Linked DNA regions of Homo sapiens: all the other regions are linked to region 1. Evidence: promoter capture Hi-C in human tissues and cell types (Jung and others, 2019). All regions are on one chromosome and are shown on one strand. The core of a region is centred on a gene start or on the middle of the fragment in contact, and the rest is flanking DNA. Distances in the headings are between cores, read along the strand shown. Region 1 holds the start of PPP1R26 (protein phosphatase 1 regulatory subunit 26). Region 2 has its middle 11 kb from the start of BRD3OS. Region 3 holds the start of WDR5 (WD repeat domain 5). Region 4 overlaps LOC105376311 (a long non-coding RNA gene).

Evidence for each region. Contacts are between HindIII fragments. The study calls those that stand out against the background at their distance.
Region 2: a contact is called between a fragment that was not itself captured here and the fragment with the promoter of PPP1R26 in region 1, in 1 of the 25 tissues and cell types used here (spleen).
Region 3: a contact is called between the fragment with the promoter of WDR5 here and the fragment with the promoter of PPP1R26 in region 1, in 1 of the 25 tissues and cell types used here (spleen).
Region 4: a fragment that was not itself captured here is called in contact with the fragment with the promoter of PPP1R26 in region 1 in 1 of the 25 tissues and cell types used here (lymphoblastoid cells).

The regions. Positions count from the first base shown.
Region 1 is chr9:135,477,738-135,481,465 of GRCh38, forward strand. PPP1R26 (protein phosphatase 1 regulatory subunit 26) reads left to right here and starts at 2,045. Exons shown (of 4, transcript NM_014811.5): 1 at 2,045-2,285. RefSeq lists silencers at 2,567-2,626, 2,637-2,686. The HindIII fragment of the contact is 17,940 bases long and covers 1-3,728 here.
Region 2 is chr9:134,012,319-134,016,046 of GRCh38, forward strand. No RefSeq gene overlaps it. Among named protein-coding and RNA genes, the nearest start is that of BRD3OS, 11 kb to the right of the region's middle. The HindIII fragment of the contact is 3,578 bases long and covers 381-3,728 here.
Region 3 is chr9:134,134,138-134,137,865 of GRCh38, forward strand. WDR5 (WD repeat domain 5) reads left to right here and starts at 1,945. Exons shown (of 14, transcript NM_017588.3): 1 at 1,945-2,063. It overlaps WDR5-DT (WDR5 divergent transcript), which reads right to left and starts at 1,845. Exons shown (of 2, transcript NR_186420.1): 1 at 1,049-1,845. RefSeq lists enhancers at 986-1,095, 2,002-2,926 and silencers at 1,286-1,455, 1,896-2,075. The HindIII fragment of the contact is 22,361 bases long and covers 1-1,951 here.
Region 4 is chr9:134,446,424-134,450,151 of GRCh38, forward strand. The region is part of intron 1 of LOC105376311 (a long non-coding RNA gene); the gene reads left to right. Among named protein-coding and RNA genes, the nearest start is that of MIR4669, 69 kb to the left of the region's middle. RefSeq lists silencers at 638-1,045, 3,220-3,514. The HindIII fragment of the contact is 7,221 bases long and covers 1-3,728 here.

The sequences.
Region 1 (3,728 bases), core at 795-3,294:
TGTGTTATTGTACTGTTGTACAATACACTTTTTTTCTGAGACAGAGTCTCGCTCTGTCACCCAGGCTGGAGTGCTGTGGCACCGTCTCGGTTCACTGCAACCTCCACCTCCTGGGTTCAAGCAATTCTCCTGCCTCAGCCTCCCGATTATCTGGGATTACAGGCACCCGCTACCACACCCGGTTAATTTTTGTATTTTTTAGTAGAGACGAGGTTTCATCATGTTAGCCAGGCTGGTCTCAAACTCCTGACTTCAGGTGATCTGCCCAACTTGGCCTCCCAAAGTGCTGGGATTACAGGGGTGAGCCGCCGCGCCCGACCATACATTGCATTTACGCTCTTGTACAGAGTAGCATACAGCACAGAGAAGAGCTAAATTCCTTACGGTAACAAGCTCTTAGAATCCCTAAGAAAAAGACACACAGCCCAACAGAAAAATAAAAAATGGGCAAAGAACACAGACAGGCAATATTCCAAATGGCCAATAATAAAATGAAAAGATGTTCAACATCACCAGCAGTCAAAGAAATTAGGATTCAAGTGATGAAAAGGGCTGTTTCGCCTATCAGACTGCCAAAGACATAACGCAATGACATATCTCAGGGCTGGCAAGAGGACAGGCAAGCGGGCATGCCCGCTCACCAGTGGGTGGACGGCAGGCTGGCCCCGCATTTCTGGAGGGCATTTTGGCAAAATGCAGCATAGTCTTTGGCCCGCCGGCCTCTTCTAGGGATTTGCCCGCAGGAAATGCTCAGAGCCGCTCTAAGGAGGCATCATGAAAGCTGTTCACCACAGCACTGTTTTAAAAACTGTGAAGCAGCATGCCAAAACCTTAACAGCCCATGTCTCTGGGAAGTCACCTTATTAATTAGATCATCTCCCCAAAGTTTGGTAATGAAAGAGTATTATTTCATGAGAAAAAAAAAATTGCTTTTTGAAAAAATTCACGAAGGCATTAAAACAATTCTTTAATGGGTTTCCTGACCCAAAACTGGCCCTCCAGCTTCCCAGGCTGGCATGACTAGAAGCACCCCTCCAAGGCAAGTCTCTGATTTTGATCCTATCAAATCTCTGACACTTTCTAGACAGGAACCGAACCCACAAATTCATCTCCCAGACACGTGTGGATCAGGGCCCAGGGGGCTTACAGAAGCAGCGCGGTGCCCCTGCGCACCATCTGCCCCTTCCACGAGTGGGCGCTGAGGGAGGATCCAGTCGGGTCTGCCCGTTCCCCGCCGCCCGGGGATGCTGAGCACACCCGGGCCACCGCCAGCCTCGGGCACACACCCTGGACCTTTTATAAAACAAAACTGGGAAGACTTTCAAGGTCACATGGTCAGTGCACAGCAGAAGCAGAAACAGCAGCGGCCTCAAGGTCCGGGGCAGTTCCTAGAAACTGTTCCCTCCCCCGAACCTGGCGGCAGGTGTGCTCGAGGAGCCGCCGCCCCGGGCAGGTCGTGCGTCCACTCCCCGCCGCAAGCTCGGGTGGGGCAGCCGCGGGGACACGCGGGGGCCGCCCCCGACCCCGGCCCAAGGCTGTGGGGCTGGAGGGGCGGGCGGGCCGGTCTCAGCCCGGAGCCCCGCGTGAACTTCGGGGAGGAACTCGGTTGGCGCCGGGGCCCCGCACGCTCCCTTCCCGCGGCTCCGAGCGCTTTCCCACGGCCACGCCCCCCGCGCCCAGAACTTCCCGGCGACCCCGCGCCCCCTGCGCGCCCCCCGGAGGTGGCCGCGGTACGGGAGGCGGGCAGCACGGGGCTCGGCCCGGCCCAAGCGCCTTCGCCCCGCACCCCGCGGAGGGGGCCGCGTCCGAACCGGGCGGGGCGGGGCGGGGGCGTCCCCGGGGCGCGGGCGCGGCGGCAGGTGGGCGCGCTCTCGCGGGCGGGGGTCCGGCCGGGCCGCGCGCCTCCCCCGGAACTCGGCCGTGCCATTCCCATGATGCCCAGCCACGGGCACGGCTTCCGGAGTGCGGCCGCCGCCGCCACCGTCCGGTAGGTCGCGGGGAGGGGGCGGCTTGGGGGGGTCGCCCCGCCCCCCGCCCCGCCCCTCCCCTCCCGCGCTTCCCACGGCGCGGCCCGGGCGCGGGGCGGCGGCAGCGGCGGCGCGCGGGGAGGCGGGGAGGCGGGGGGCCCGGCCGGACGCCCCTGCGCCCCCTCCCCGCGCCCCGGCCGAGGGCGGAGCGCGCTGGCCCTGCAGCCTCCGGCCCGCCCCCGGCCCGCCGCCTCCCCCGGGACGTGGGACGCGGGCGCAGGCGGGGTCCGCGCGGCGGGCGGCGGGGGACGGGCGGAGGTGAGCGGGTGCAGGGCCGGGGCCGGGGGGCTCGGGGGCTGGGAAGCTGGGGGGTCGGGGACAGGAGGGCCAGCCAGGCCGGGGCCGGCGCGCCGTGCAGGCCGCGGCGGGCGGGCGGCGGGGGCTCCCCGAGGCAGGCGGACGGGGATCGGCGCCGGGGCTGCTCCGTTCCCCGGGCGGGGATCCTGTCTCTGGCCTCCGTGCGACTCTCGGCCCGCGCGCCCCGCGCTCCTGGAGCCCCAGGTGAGGCGCAGGTGAGGGCCCGCGGTGGGGAGCTTTGGCCCGGCCCGGGGCGGCCGCTGCCCTCCGAGAATGGCCGCGGCCCGGCCGGCCTGGAGACTGCGGTTCACGCCCTGCGCCAGGCGGAGCTTCCGGGAGGGTGGCCGCTCTCCCGGGCCCCAAGCTCGCTAGTCCTCGGATCCCAGAAACATAACTCCGGGGGTGCAGACCTGCTTGGAGGCCCGGCCTCTTCCCTGGGAGGCGTTCACTCCCGCCGGGCCGAGGACCAGGTCGCCGATCCCAGCGGCTAGGGTGAGCGCGCCCTCGGGGAGGGGAGCTCCCTTGGGGGACCCTGCCCAGCCCGCAGGCCGTGAGTAGCCCAAGCTTGGGAGTCAGGGGAGGTCGGGCCGGGGCAGCCGGGAGGGGCTCACCTTGCCTTCAGTTCCCAAGCACAGGAAATGGCGGTGCAGCTTTGCTGGGGGACGCTTGTAGTGAGGTTGTAAAATTGCAGCTTCTGGAAGGCTGGGAGCTGAATTCTAGCCCACGCCCACTTCTGGGTGGCTGGAGCGGGTCCTCCTGCTGCCCCGCCCGCTCCTGCACCGGGGCTCCTCTCCCTGGCCTGCAGACCCTGGCCTCCCTACCCTGGGGGGAAACCCCACCTGGGAGGTAAGACCGCTGGCTGAGCTGCTTTTCGGCCAACCGAGAAATGTAGAGTATTTGGGGGCGTTTCTCACAGGTGGGCAGACTGTTAGGATGGCGAGGGCCCAGTGTGGGTGCTTTGGTTCTCTCCAGAAGGTTGATGTCTGGACCGAGAAGGTACCCGAGTGTTCTCCACCGCTTCCTAAAATCTGACACCGTGTGGCCTTGGGGTGCAGGTGCTGGGTGTCCCCACAGCCACCCTCAAGACCGTATCCTGAGGCAGCAATTTGACAAAGCCTGCACCTCTGGCTTGGGCCCACACCTATCTCTAAGGACTGATTAGGGGGCTTTTCTTGTTTTTTTTTTTTTTTTTTTTTTAGAGCCAGAGTCTCGCTTTGTCGCCCAGGCTGGAGTGCAATGGCTGATCTCGGCTCACTGTAATCTCCGCCTCCCTGGTTCAAGCGATTCTCGTGCCTCAGCCCCTGGAGTAGCTGGAACTACAGACGTGGGCTCCCACGCCCAGCTAATTTATGTGTTTTTAGTAGAGATGGGGTTTCGCCATGTTGGCCAGGCTGGTCTCGAACT
Region 2 (3,728 bases), core at 920-3,419, 1.5 Mb before region 1:
CCGGGACTGTGAAACACCGCGGCCCCGGGACTGTGAAACACCGCGGCCCCGGGACTGTGAAACACCGCGGCCTCGGGACTGTGATACACCGCGGCCTCGGGACTGTGAAACACCGAGGCCTCGGGACTGTGATACACCGCGGCCTCGGGACTGTGATACACCGCGGCCTCGGGACAGTGAAACACCGCGGCCTCGGGACTGCGATACACCGCGGCCTCGGGACTGCGATACACCGCGGCCTCGGGACTGCGAAACACCGCGGCCTCGCGACTGCGATACACCGCGGCCCCGGGACTGCGATACACCGCGGCCCCGCGACTGCGATACACCGCGGCCCCGCGACTGCGATACACCGCGGCCCCGCGACTGCGATACACCGCGGCCCCGGGACTGCGATACACCGCGGCCCCGGGACTGCGATACACCGCGGCCCCGGGACTGCGATACACCGCGGCCCCGGGACTGCGAAACACCGCGGCCCCGGGACTGCGATACACCGCGGCCCCGGGACTGCGATACACCGCGGCCCCGGGACTGCGATACACCGCGGCCCCGGGACTGCGAAACACCGCGGCCCCGGGACTGCGATACACCGCGGCCCCGGGACTGCGAAACACCGCGGCCCCGGGACTGCGATACACCGCGGCCCCGGGACTGCGATACACCGCGGCCCCGGGACTGCGATACACCGCGGCCCCGGGACTGCGATACACCGCGGCCCCGGGACTGCGATACACCGCGGCCCCGGGACTGCGATACACCGCGGCCCCGGGACTGCGATACACCGCGGCCCCGGGACTGCGAAACACCGCGGCCCCGGGACTGCGATACACCGCGGCCCCGGGACTGCGAAACACCGCGGCCCCGGGACTGCGATACACCGCGGCCCCGGGACTGCGAAACACCGCGGCCCCGGGACTGCGATACACCGCGGCCCCGGGACTGTGAAACACCGCGGCCCCGGGACTGTGATACACCGCGGCCCCGGGACTGTGAAACACCGCGGCCCCGGGACTGTGATACACCGCGGCCCCGGGACTGTGAAACACCGCGGCCCCGGGACTGTGATACACCGCGGCCCCGGGACTGTGATACACCGCGGCCCCGGGACTGTGAAACACCGCGGCCCCGGGACTGTGATACACCGCGGCCCCGGGACTGTGAAACACCGCGGCCCCGGGACTGTGAAACACCGAGGCCTCGGGACTGTGATACACTGCGGCCTCGGGACTGTGATACACTGCGGCCTCGGGACAGTGAAACACTGCGGCCTCGGGACTGCGATACACTGCGGCCTCGGGACTGCGATACACTGCGGCCTCGGGACTGCGAAACACCGCGGCCTCGGGACTGCGATACACCGCGGCCCCGGGACTGCGAAACACCGCGGCCCCGGGACTGCGAAACACCGCGGCCCCGGGACTGTGATACACCGCGGCCCCGGGACTGTGATACACCGCGGCCCCGGGACTGTGAAACACCGCGGCCCCGGGACTGTGAAACACCGCGGCCCCGGGACTGTGAAACACCGCGGCCCCGGGACTGTGAAACACCGCGGCCCCGGGACTGTGATACACCGCGGCCCCGGGACTGTGATACACCGCGGCCCCGGGACTGTGATACACCGCGGCCCCGGGACTGTGAAACACCGCGGCCCCGGGACTGTGAAACACCGAGGCCTCGGGACTGTGATACACTGCGGCCTCGGGACTGTGATACACTGCGGCCTCGGGACAGTGAAACACTGCGGCCTCGGGACTGCGATACACTGCGGCCTCGGGACTGCGATACACTGCGGCCTCGGGACAGTGAAACACTGCGGCCTCGGGACTGTGAAACACTGCGGCCTCGGGACTGCGATACACTGCGGCCTCGGGACTGCGATACACTGCGGCCTCGGGACTGCGAAACACTGCGGCCTCGGGACTGCGATACACTGCGGCCTCGGGACTGCGAAACACTGCGGCCTCGGGACTGCGATACACTGCGGCCTCGGGACTGCGAAACACTGCGGCCTCGGGACTGCGATACACTGCGGCCTCGGGACTGTGAAACACTGCGGCCTCGGGACTGTGAAACACTGCGGCCTCGGGACTGTGATACACTGCGGCCTCGGGACTGTGAAACACTGCGGCCTCGGGACTGTGATACACTGCGGCCTCGGGACTGTGATACACTGCGGCCTCGGGACTGTGAAACACTGCGGCCTCGGGACTGTGATACACTGCGGCCTCGGGACTGTGATACACTGTGGCCTCGGGACTGTGATACACTGCGGCCTCGGGACTGTGAAACACTGCGGCCTCGGGACTGGTTGCAGGAACAAGGCTTGTATCAACTCCGTAGATTCCCTTGCCTATTAAGTATGTGTATGTTTGTATCTAGCTATTCCTTTTTTTTTTTCAATTAAGATGGCGGTCTTACTCCCCTCCCCCAAGCTGGAGTGCAGTGGCGCGATCATGGATCACTGCAGCCTCAAACTCCCAGGCTCAATGATCCTCCCACCTCAGCCTCCCAAATAGCTGGGACCACAGGTGTGTGCCACAACACCTGGCTAATTTTGGTTTTTGGTAGAGATGGCACCATGTTGCCCAAGCTGGTCTCAACCTCCTGGATTCAGGTGATGCCCACGTCTTGGCCTCCCAAAGTGCTGGGATTACAGGCCTGAGCCACTGCGCCCAGCCAAAACCTATTCTTAAATTAAGAAAGTTTTTTTCCTTAAGATATCAGGACATCAGGGCATTTCCAGAAGTACTGGGTCTGTTTAGTTAGTAAGCATCATTAACTTGCTCCCTCAACCATAAGAGTGCTTCACCTCCTGGGAATGTGACCCAGCAGGTCTCACTATATTTTTCTCTCATTCAAGATGGAGTCACTCTGGTTTGGACACTTCTGGCAGCTTCATGGGTCCCTCCTCTAAGCATCTAGGTTTTCATCATTCCAACCTCTTCCCTTTGTTCCTTATCCCTAGGGGTGGTGGTAGTTGCTTCCTGCAGGTGCTACTTTAGGATATTTTAGAGTTATTTTTTTTCTTCTGAACTTAACAACTTTGTACTTAGCGAACAATTCCTTGTATTTATTTCTCCCAGTTCAAATGATTGGTGTGGTTTCTCTCTTCCAAACAGACTCTGACTAATATAAGTTCCATATCAATCATATGTATTGCAAATTTCTTCTCACGTTCTGTGGCTTTCCTTTTCACTCTTAAAAGGTATATTTTAATAAGCTTTAAAAATTTTAGAAGAGTTTGTTTTACAGAAAAATTGCAAACATGGTACGGCGTCCATATAAGCCCAATACCAATTTTCTCTATTGTTGATGTCTTACTTTCGTGTGGTCTGTGACAATTAATGAACCAATATTGATACATTATTATTAATTCAAGTGCATACTTTAGTCAGATGTCTATAGTTGGTATCTTTTTTAAATTTAAATAGTGAGGTTTCCATTCATAAAATTTCTCCATTTAAAGTTTTTGTGCCAGCCGGGCACGGTGGCTCATGCCTGTAATCCCAGCACTTTGGGAGGCTGAGGTGGGCGGATCACCTGAGGTTGGGAGTTTGAGACCAGCCTGACCAACGTGGAGAAACCCCGTCTCTACTAAAAATCCAAAATTAGCCGGGCATGGTGGCACATGCCTGTAATCCCAGCTACTCAGGCGGCTGACGCAGGAGAATCACTTGAACCTGGGAGGCGGAGGTTGCAGTGAGCCGAGATCGCACCATTGC
Region 3 (3,728 bases), core at 695-3,194, 1.3 Mb before region 1:
GCTGGAGTGCAATGGTGCGATCTCGGCTCACTGCAACCTCTTTCCTGGGTTCCAGCGATTCTCCTTGCCTCAGCCTCAGCCTCAGGTGATCCCGACCTCAGGTGATCCACTCGCCTCAGCCTCCCAAAGTGCTGGGATTACAGGCGTGAGCCGCCGCGCCCGGCCGGATTTTCTCATTTTTACTAGAAGGTTCTATCTCCTGGGGGTGGGGTGAGGTGGTGAGACCAATTCACCTGGAAGTGGAAGCTGGGAACTTGGTTTGAGTTCTGAGGGTTCTGGGGTCTCGCCCCTTATCTTGCTTTGCCTGGAGGGCTGAAGGGCTGGAAATATTTTTGTTTTGGGGCTGGAACCAGGACTGCAGTTTGGGAGCCGGTGCTAGGTTGGAAGAGGAGGCGGGGTCTGGTAAGCACTTTAGCCGAATTGAGCAGTGGGAATTAGGGAATTGAGGGCAGTGGGAAGCTGGTTCTGAGTTTTAAACTGGGGAGTGACAGATCAGAGCTGGATTTTTAGGAGTTTCTCTGTTTGGAGGTTTAGAAAAGACCCAGGTGGGAGGTAGGGCTGGGGTGGGGAGGGAGAGAAGTGGACGATCTGAGAGCTGAGGTGGGGTGGAAGGAGAGCAGCGTGTCACGGGCTCGGGATTCCGGCCCAGGCGGCCAGGTGGACGGAGATAAAGATGCGCTTCTTCATCCGAACTGGGTTTGCTAACCTGTGACTGTCACCACTCCATGCTCCAGGGCACCTGGCCCAAGGGATCCGGCCTCTTGGGCACACAAATCCATATGGAGCCCTGAAGGACCAGACAGGGACCTTGCCTTCTCTGTGTCCTTCCTGGGAAGGGGACTCCAGACCAACTGCCAGTCTTCCGGTTCCACCTCTCTGACAACCGCTCACCTCACCCTCCTTGGCATTTTTATTTCAAATGCTCTATCCCTTTGTTTGCATGGGTTCCTGTGTCATATTCTGTGTTCCCATTTTTAATTGGAGAATAAGGGACTGTATGTTATTCTACCCACAGGCCTAGCTGAGGGGATAGGGAGGCCATGCCTACCTCCAAGGCTCTAAGAAGTGAAGCAGGCGGCGAGAATGTGCAGTCGTTGAGGCCAGAGGACCGGGCCTCAGCTTCTCCTTAAGCCCCTGAGTCCTCCTCTGGGGACCACCCCCTTGTACCTGGAGGTGAAAATGCCCGCCCAGGAGGGAAGGGCTGGCCCCGGGAGAGCCCGCTGCGAAGTGAGTTTGCGCACTGCGGAGCGGGCGCGGGTGACTCCAGAGCGGCCCTGCCAGTCCGCGGGGCTGGCGGGGAGCAGGTTCGTGCACCGCGGGCTCTGTGCATGCAGAGGCGGGAAGAGCCCCCAGCCCGGCAGCCGGCCCCGCGGGAAGGCGCAGCCCGGGCTTCCGAACCCTGTGAACGCGCAGGTTCCTGGTCTTCCAGATGGGCAGGAATCGTCCTGCCCGCCCGGGGTGGGAGGCCACATGGGGGCACTGCGCCCGGGCGCGGCCCCAGGTGCTTTCCAAATGCCCACTGCCGCTCTCATCCGTACCAGCGATGATCAAGAAGGGGCCTGGTCGCCCGGGGAGGTGCCCCGGCCCGAATCGACTCCGGAGACAACGCCGGGCGACGCCACCTGCGCAGGTCCCGGAGGGCCGCTGGTGTCTGTGTACAGGGCGTGCTGTCTGTGGAAACGCGAGGGCACACTAGCACTTTCCTGTATGTATTATTATACTTCAGTTTTTAGGAAGTGCATTAGAAGGGCCTGCACCAGTCAAATTCGGGGATTAAAGCTTTTAAGCGGGAAGCGCGCGCCCCGTGCTGTCCCTTTAAAGCGTTGGGCCGGCCCGAGGCATTCTGGCCGCTGTCGCTGCCCGTAGCGCTCCTCCGAGAGGCCGGCTTTGTGAGCTCGCCCCGCCCCCCGGACACCGCCCCCTCCCCTCGCGCACGCGCACTGCGCCCCCGCCGCCTGGCGCCCGCCCGAGCTGCCGCCTTGTCGAGCTGAGTCCGCGCTCCCGCCCAGGCGGCGGCCGACGCGACGCCCCGAGCGCCCGGCCCCGCCGCCGCGGCCCGGCAGGTAAGCGGGCAGCCGCCCGGCCCGGGGAACACAAGGCGGGCAGCGGGGCGGCGCCAGAAGCTTCCAAACCGCACCCGGCCGCCGCACGTGTTCCCCGCCGGGCCTCGGGCCAGGCCCAGCCCCGGGCGCTGCTCCCGCTGCAGCGGCCCCGCCCGGGACCCCCGCCCCGGCCCCTCGGTGGACGGCCGCGCGCGCAGTTCCCTCCACCCGGTCCGCCCCCACTCGCGCCCCCACCTCCGCCTCCCCGGCGGACCGCTGACAAGGCCAGAGCGCCGGCACTGGGTCCTCTTTCCCGCAGGCAGCGTGCCCGGCCTCACATCGCCCCTCTCCCTCCACTGCCCCTTCAGGGAAGGACCCCAGACCCACCAAGCCACTCAGTCCCTGGACGAGGTGCGCTTCCCCTCCTCGTAGAAACGCCCCCAGCCCGCTCCCGCCGCTCACCCCAACCCGAGGCAGCCAGGCTGCAGCTCGCTAGGTGGGGTCCTGGGGTGCGGGTCCTCGGTCCTGAACGGTAGGCCCACCGTGCCTCCTCGCGCGGGGCCGCAGACCTGTCCTGGCCGGTCTGCGAGAGCCATTTTGAGCGGTTACGTTCCCGGACCAAACAGAGGTCGGCCTGTTACATCGCTAACGACACTCCCTGCTGTCTCGCTTGCAAGTTTCCACTCACCCCGGTCCGTTTACCCATCTCCTCAAATGCTAGTTTAATCTGTGACCTGGGCAGGTGCTGTCCTAGCCGGTGGGGAAGACAGGAAAGCGAAGGACCCAGGCGGGGAGCCTGTCCAGGATCTCAGATAGGGAGAGCCAGGTCCCCACCTCTGTTGGGCCGGCCACCCGGCTGGTGTTTAAGATGCAGATTAATTCCTGTCTTTGCACACAGTATGCTTTTCTGACTGCATGTCACAGGCAGATTCCTGGGCTCCACCTCAGGGACTGAGGGACTCAGGAATCGGCCTGTGGCATGCAGTCCAGGAGGGCACACTGAGGTTTGGTTGCTCGGCTTCAGGTGGTCAGGCTTACCTGGATGAAAAGCAGTGGCTGCTAGGAGGAGCCAGGCAGCATCTGGTCTAGGGGCCGCCAATTCATCACCGTTCCCGTAACCTTGGCCCCCGCTTTCCTCAAGATCAAGTCTCCAACCTTCCTGTTCTCTCAAAAGGATTGTTCCACAGAGACACCTGAGTGTTCATGAAAATGCCAAGCCTTGGCCCGGCGCGGTGGCTCACGCCTGTAATCCTAGCACTTTGGGAGGCTGAGGCGGGCGGATTGCCTGAGGTCAGGAGTTCGAGACTAGCCTGGGCAACATGGCGAAACTCCGTCTCTACTAAAAATACAAAAGATTGGCCGGGCGTAGTGGTACGCGCCTGTAATCCCGGCTAAACTGGAGGCTGAGGCGCAAGAATTACTTGAACCCGGAAGGTGGAGGTTGTAGTGAGCCCAGATCGTGCACCTGGACTCTTTGGACTGTGTCTCAAAAAAAAAACAAAAACAAAAAAAAAACACGCCAAGCCTAGACCCCACCGACGTAGAAACTTGGTGGGTGTGTTGGGTCAAGAAATTGCATTCCCCGCCACCCCCCGACGGAGTTTCACTGTTTGGCCCAGGCTGGAGTGCAGTGGCGCAATCTTGGTTCTGCCTTCTGGTTTCAAGTGATTCTCCTGCCTCAGCCTC
Region 4 (3,728 bases), core at 756-3,255, 1.0 Mb before region 1:
AGGATTTCACCATGTTGGTTAGGCTGGTCTTGAACTCCTGACTTCAAATGATCTGCCAGACTTGGCCTCCCAAAGTGCTGGGATTACAGGCGTGAGCCACCACGCCCGGCCCAGTGAAGTGACTTTTGAGGCTGACTGCCCCCCCAACTCCTTCCCCCTCACCCCCTCCTACACTTCTAAGGTTGGGGTGCGAGTCACTTGAGGATCCTGGCCCAGGTGTGGAGGGGGACGCTGCTTCCCACAGTGCTCGCTCACGGCAGGTAACTGTGGAAGAACCGTAGCCCAGGTTCTTCCTGGGGGGCTGGGGGGCTGCTGGATTCCACCTGAGCAGGCCCAACACCCACCTGCCCAGCAGCATCTTCTTTGCACCACTGCACGGCTGCTGAACGCGGCCCTCACGCCCTTCTCACATCTGCCTGGCCCTTACCGGCGTAGCAACGTCCTTCATCTCCAGGGGCTTCATGTTGTCCTCCCAGCAGCTCCGTGAAGGAGGAGGGGCAGGGGTGACAAGCCCAGGTTCACAAAGGAAGCAGGGCTGGAGAGAGACGGGTCTCACAACCTACACAACAGTGTCAGGACTCTCAGGAAGATTGTCTTTGCTGGTCAGCGGTGGCCTTGTTCCCACAGAGTGATCAGAGAGGGGCTTTCCTTAAGGGCTTCAAAGGGAAGCCAGGTGGGCCTGTAGCACTTCCCTGCTCTCCTGCTGCCCGTCCTGGAAGGAGGGAGGCGCTTTTGGGAAGCTTCTCGCTGGGCTCCTCTCGCCCGGCACTCACTGGGGTGCAGCTGTCGGAAGCAGCATGTCCACCCTCCAGCACACACGGCACATTTGCCACCGCAGGCCTGTTCCCTGGTAGCTGTCACAGCTGGGGAAGCTGAGGCTGGTGCATGACCAGCAGTGGTCAGGAGTGCTGCTCTCACCTGGGAGCAGGAGGAACACGTAGAATCTGGAGCAGCACCCTGAGCGAGTCAGGTGCGGAGACTCAGTGCCCTATCACCCAGAGGGAGGAGGATGCGGCTGGTGGGGCACCAGGGTGCTTGGGCCCAGCTGTGGGGCTTCCTCCAGGCTGAGTGGGGTGGCGGTGGGCAGGGGTTTCTCTGGAGTCCTGGCCCTGGACCTGCTGAGCTGGTGATCACTGTTGCACATGCCTGTGACTCGGTTTCCCCTGTTTGGTGTGCCCACTGTCTGTGGGATGGGCATGAGACCATCACAGGGCTGCTTGTGGCAAGTCTGCCTCCACAGTTCAGCTCTTGCATTTCAGTCTGAAAGGTCCCCCAGGCTCAGCCTGTTTGGGAGCAGCCTGTGTGCATTGGGGTAGGGGGAAGCAGAAGTGGGGTCCCAGCTCCCAGACACTGCCCACCTGGAGAAGCCATGGCCTGGCTTCCAGGCCCAGTGCCAGTGAACACGCCAGGAGTTGTGGTTGGACCAGGGCCTCAGCTTGACACCCGGGGAGTATCTCACCCCTCTCTGGTTCAGACTCTTGCTGTTGCATAAAAATCCCCCAAGTTCTTGGTCAGTAAGACCTGGGTTAGTGGCCCCAGGGCCAGGGGACTGAAGTAGGGGAGCTTTCCTAACAGACAGGCAGGGTTTGGGGAAGATTTTTCCTTTGTTGGAGGTTGGATGGGGTGGGGGAGGGGAGCAGGAGGACATGGGCTCTGCAGACCCTCTGTATCTCAGGTAGTGGCCAGGAGCCAAGGGCCCTGCTGGTGGTGCTGGCCTGGAATCCAGTCCTCGGTCTCTTCTGCTCTGCCCCTGCGAGATATAAGTGTGGGCTCTGGAGTCACTCACGTCAGCTCCCTGCTCGCTCACCCAGAGCCTCAGTTTCTGCCCCTGTGGAATGGGGCTAATCCTAGCACCTTGCTTGTGGTGCTGCCTGAGCCAAGACCTGCAGTGGCTCCCCTCTGGCATCACTCCAACACTCAGTGAGGGGCAGCTGGGCGAGACTGAGAGCGAGAGACCTTCCAGGTGCCGGGCTTTGCAGCCTCATTGGCCTTTTCTACTAAGGTCCTTTCTCTGGGTGCCCAGGGACGTGGGTGGCTTGCACAGAAGCCATGACAAGTGTGTGGGTCTACTGAGGACCCAGCTGCAGTGAAGGGCCTGGGAGAACCGGAGGTGCATGTGCTCAGGGAGTCTAACCCAGCTGTGGGGCAGAATGTCACAGGGCTGGTAGTGAGAGTGGAAGGTGGGGTCACCTGGACTGCAGGTGCCTGGGGCCAGCCAACTGCAGACTGTCCAGGGAATAGAGGGCCAAGGTGTCAGTGTCACTGGAGGGCATGTGGTGGCAGGGGGCCCTGGGTGGGGACACGTCAAAAGGGCAGGACCCAGGAATTTTCCAGTAAGTACAAACCTAGTGAACTTTGGGTGCAACAAACAAGCTACTTGAGTTACAAACAATATACTTTAGAGAAAAGCAAACAATTTGCCAAAAAACCCCAAGTGAACTAGGAGCAAATGGAACATGGATTGAGGGGGCCATACAGCCATTTGACCATTCTAGTTGGTAGCAGGGGCTGCTGACAGCACTGTGATGAGAAGGACTCTGAGGCTTTGTCTGGGTGCAGCAGACACAGGCTTGATGGGACTGTCACTGTGCAGCTGTGTTCTTCATTGGGTGAGTTGGAAAGCGAGGGTGTGGGAAGGCAGACAGCTTAAAGGTCCAAGGCCAGCAGACTTTGTTCCACTGTCCTCCTGAATTTGGAATTTGGTGGTTTCTTTCTGTTGGACATGTCACCCCTCTTGGGGCTCTAGAAACTCCACCAGTCCCTGAACACCCACCCTGCCCCACCCCACCCCCGACACATAGGCAGAGACCTTGGTTTTGTTTGGAGAGTTACAACAGCTGATAAAGCTGGGTTGCAATTTTCTGAGTCCCCACTGGGTGGCAACCTCTAATTATTCCAAGTTTTAGGGTTTAGAAAACGAAAATACCTTACTGAAGAAATTCAGTAAAACCTATCTTTGCCGCTGAATTATGTGGATGACAGCACTGAATTTTGTCATGTTCAAGGAAGGAGGCATCTCATGGACCCTTTGTCTTCCCTGCAAGGGGCTCTGTTTCCTTGGCATGCAGGGCAACACTTGATGGGAACTGTGGCAAAAGCAACTTCCCCAGAGGTCAGGATGCTTGTGAAACCTCATCACAACGGAATATCCTCAGCTTGCTCCCCCAGAGAGGCCATGGGAGCTGTATGCAGGGTCAGCCCTACTTGGGTATCTTTAGTATACACAGAGCGAGGGGAAAACATCCTAAGGTGCCTCCATCGGCTCAGGACATAGCGGTCCCTGGTGCCGTGGCTGTCAGCATCCCTATCCACCACCTGAGGGCAGTGTCATCCTGCAGAGTGCACCCGGCAACCAAACTGGTGGCCCCTGCTGACTGGCTAAGCTCTGATGTTTCCCTGGCAACCACCTCCCGGCTCCTCCCTCTCCCATTTGCCCAGCCCTGGAACATGCTGCTTAGTTTGATTTGCAGATGCTGCCTTTTTGCTCTCTGTCCCCATGCTTAGGGGCCAAGATGCTGCCCCAGAATGGACCGTGGCGGGCTGTAGAAGCAGGGACGGACCCGCATATGAACATCCCTGATTCCGTCTTAGCTGAAGGGTCCTCCTTTTCCTCCAGTGCTTGTGTTTCCCACATCCTGCTCTGGAAATGAAGAGCAAAATACAGAGAAGGGGCTTTCAGGGCCAGGAGTGAAGGCAGAGAACTGTGTGATGCTTCTGCGATTCCCCAG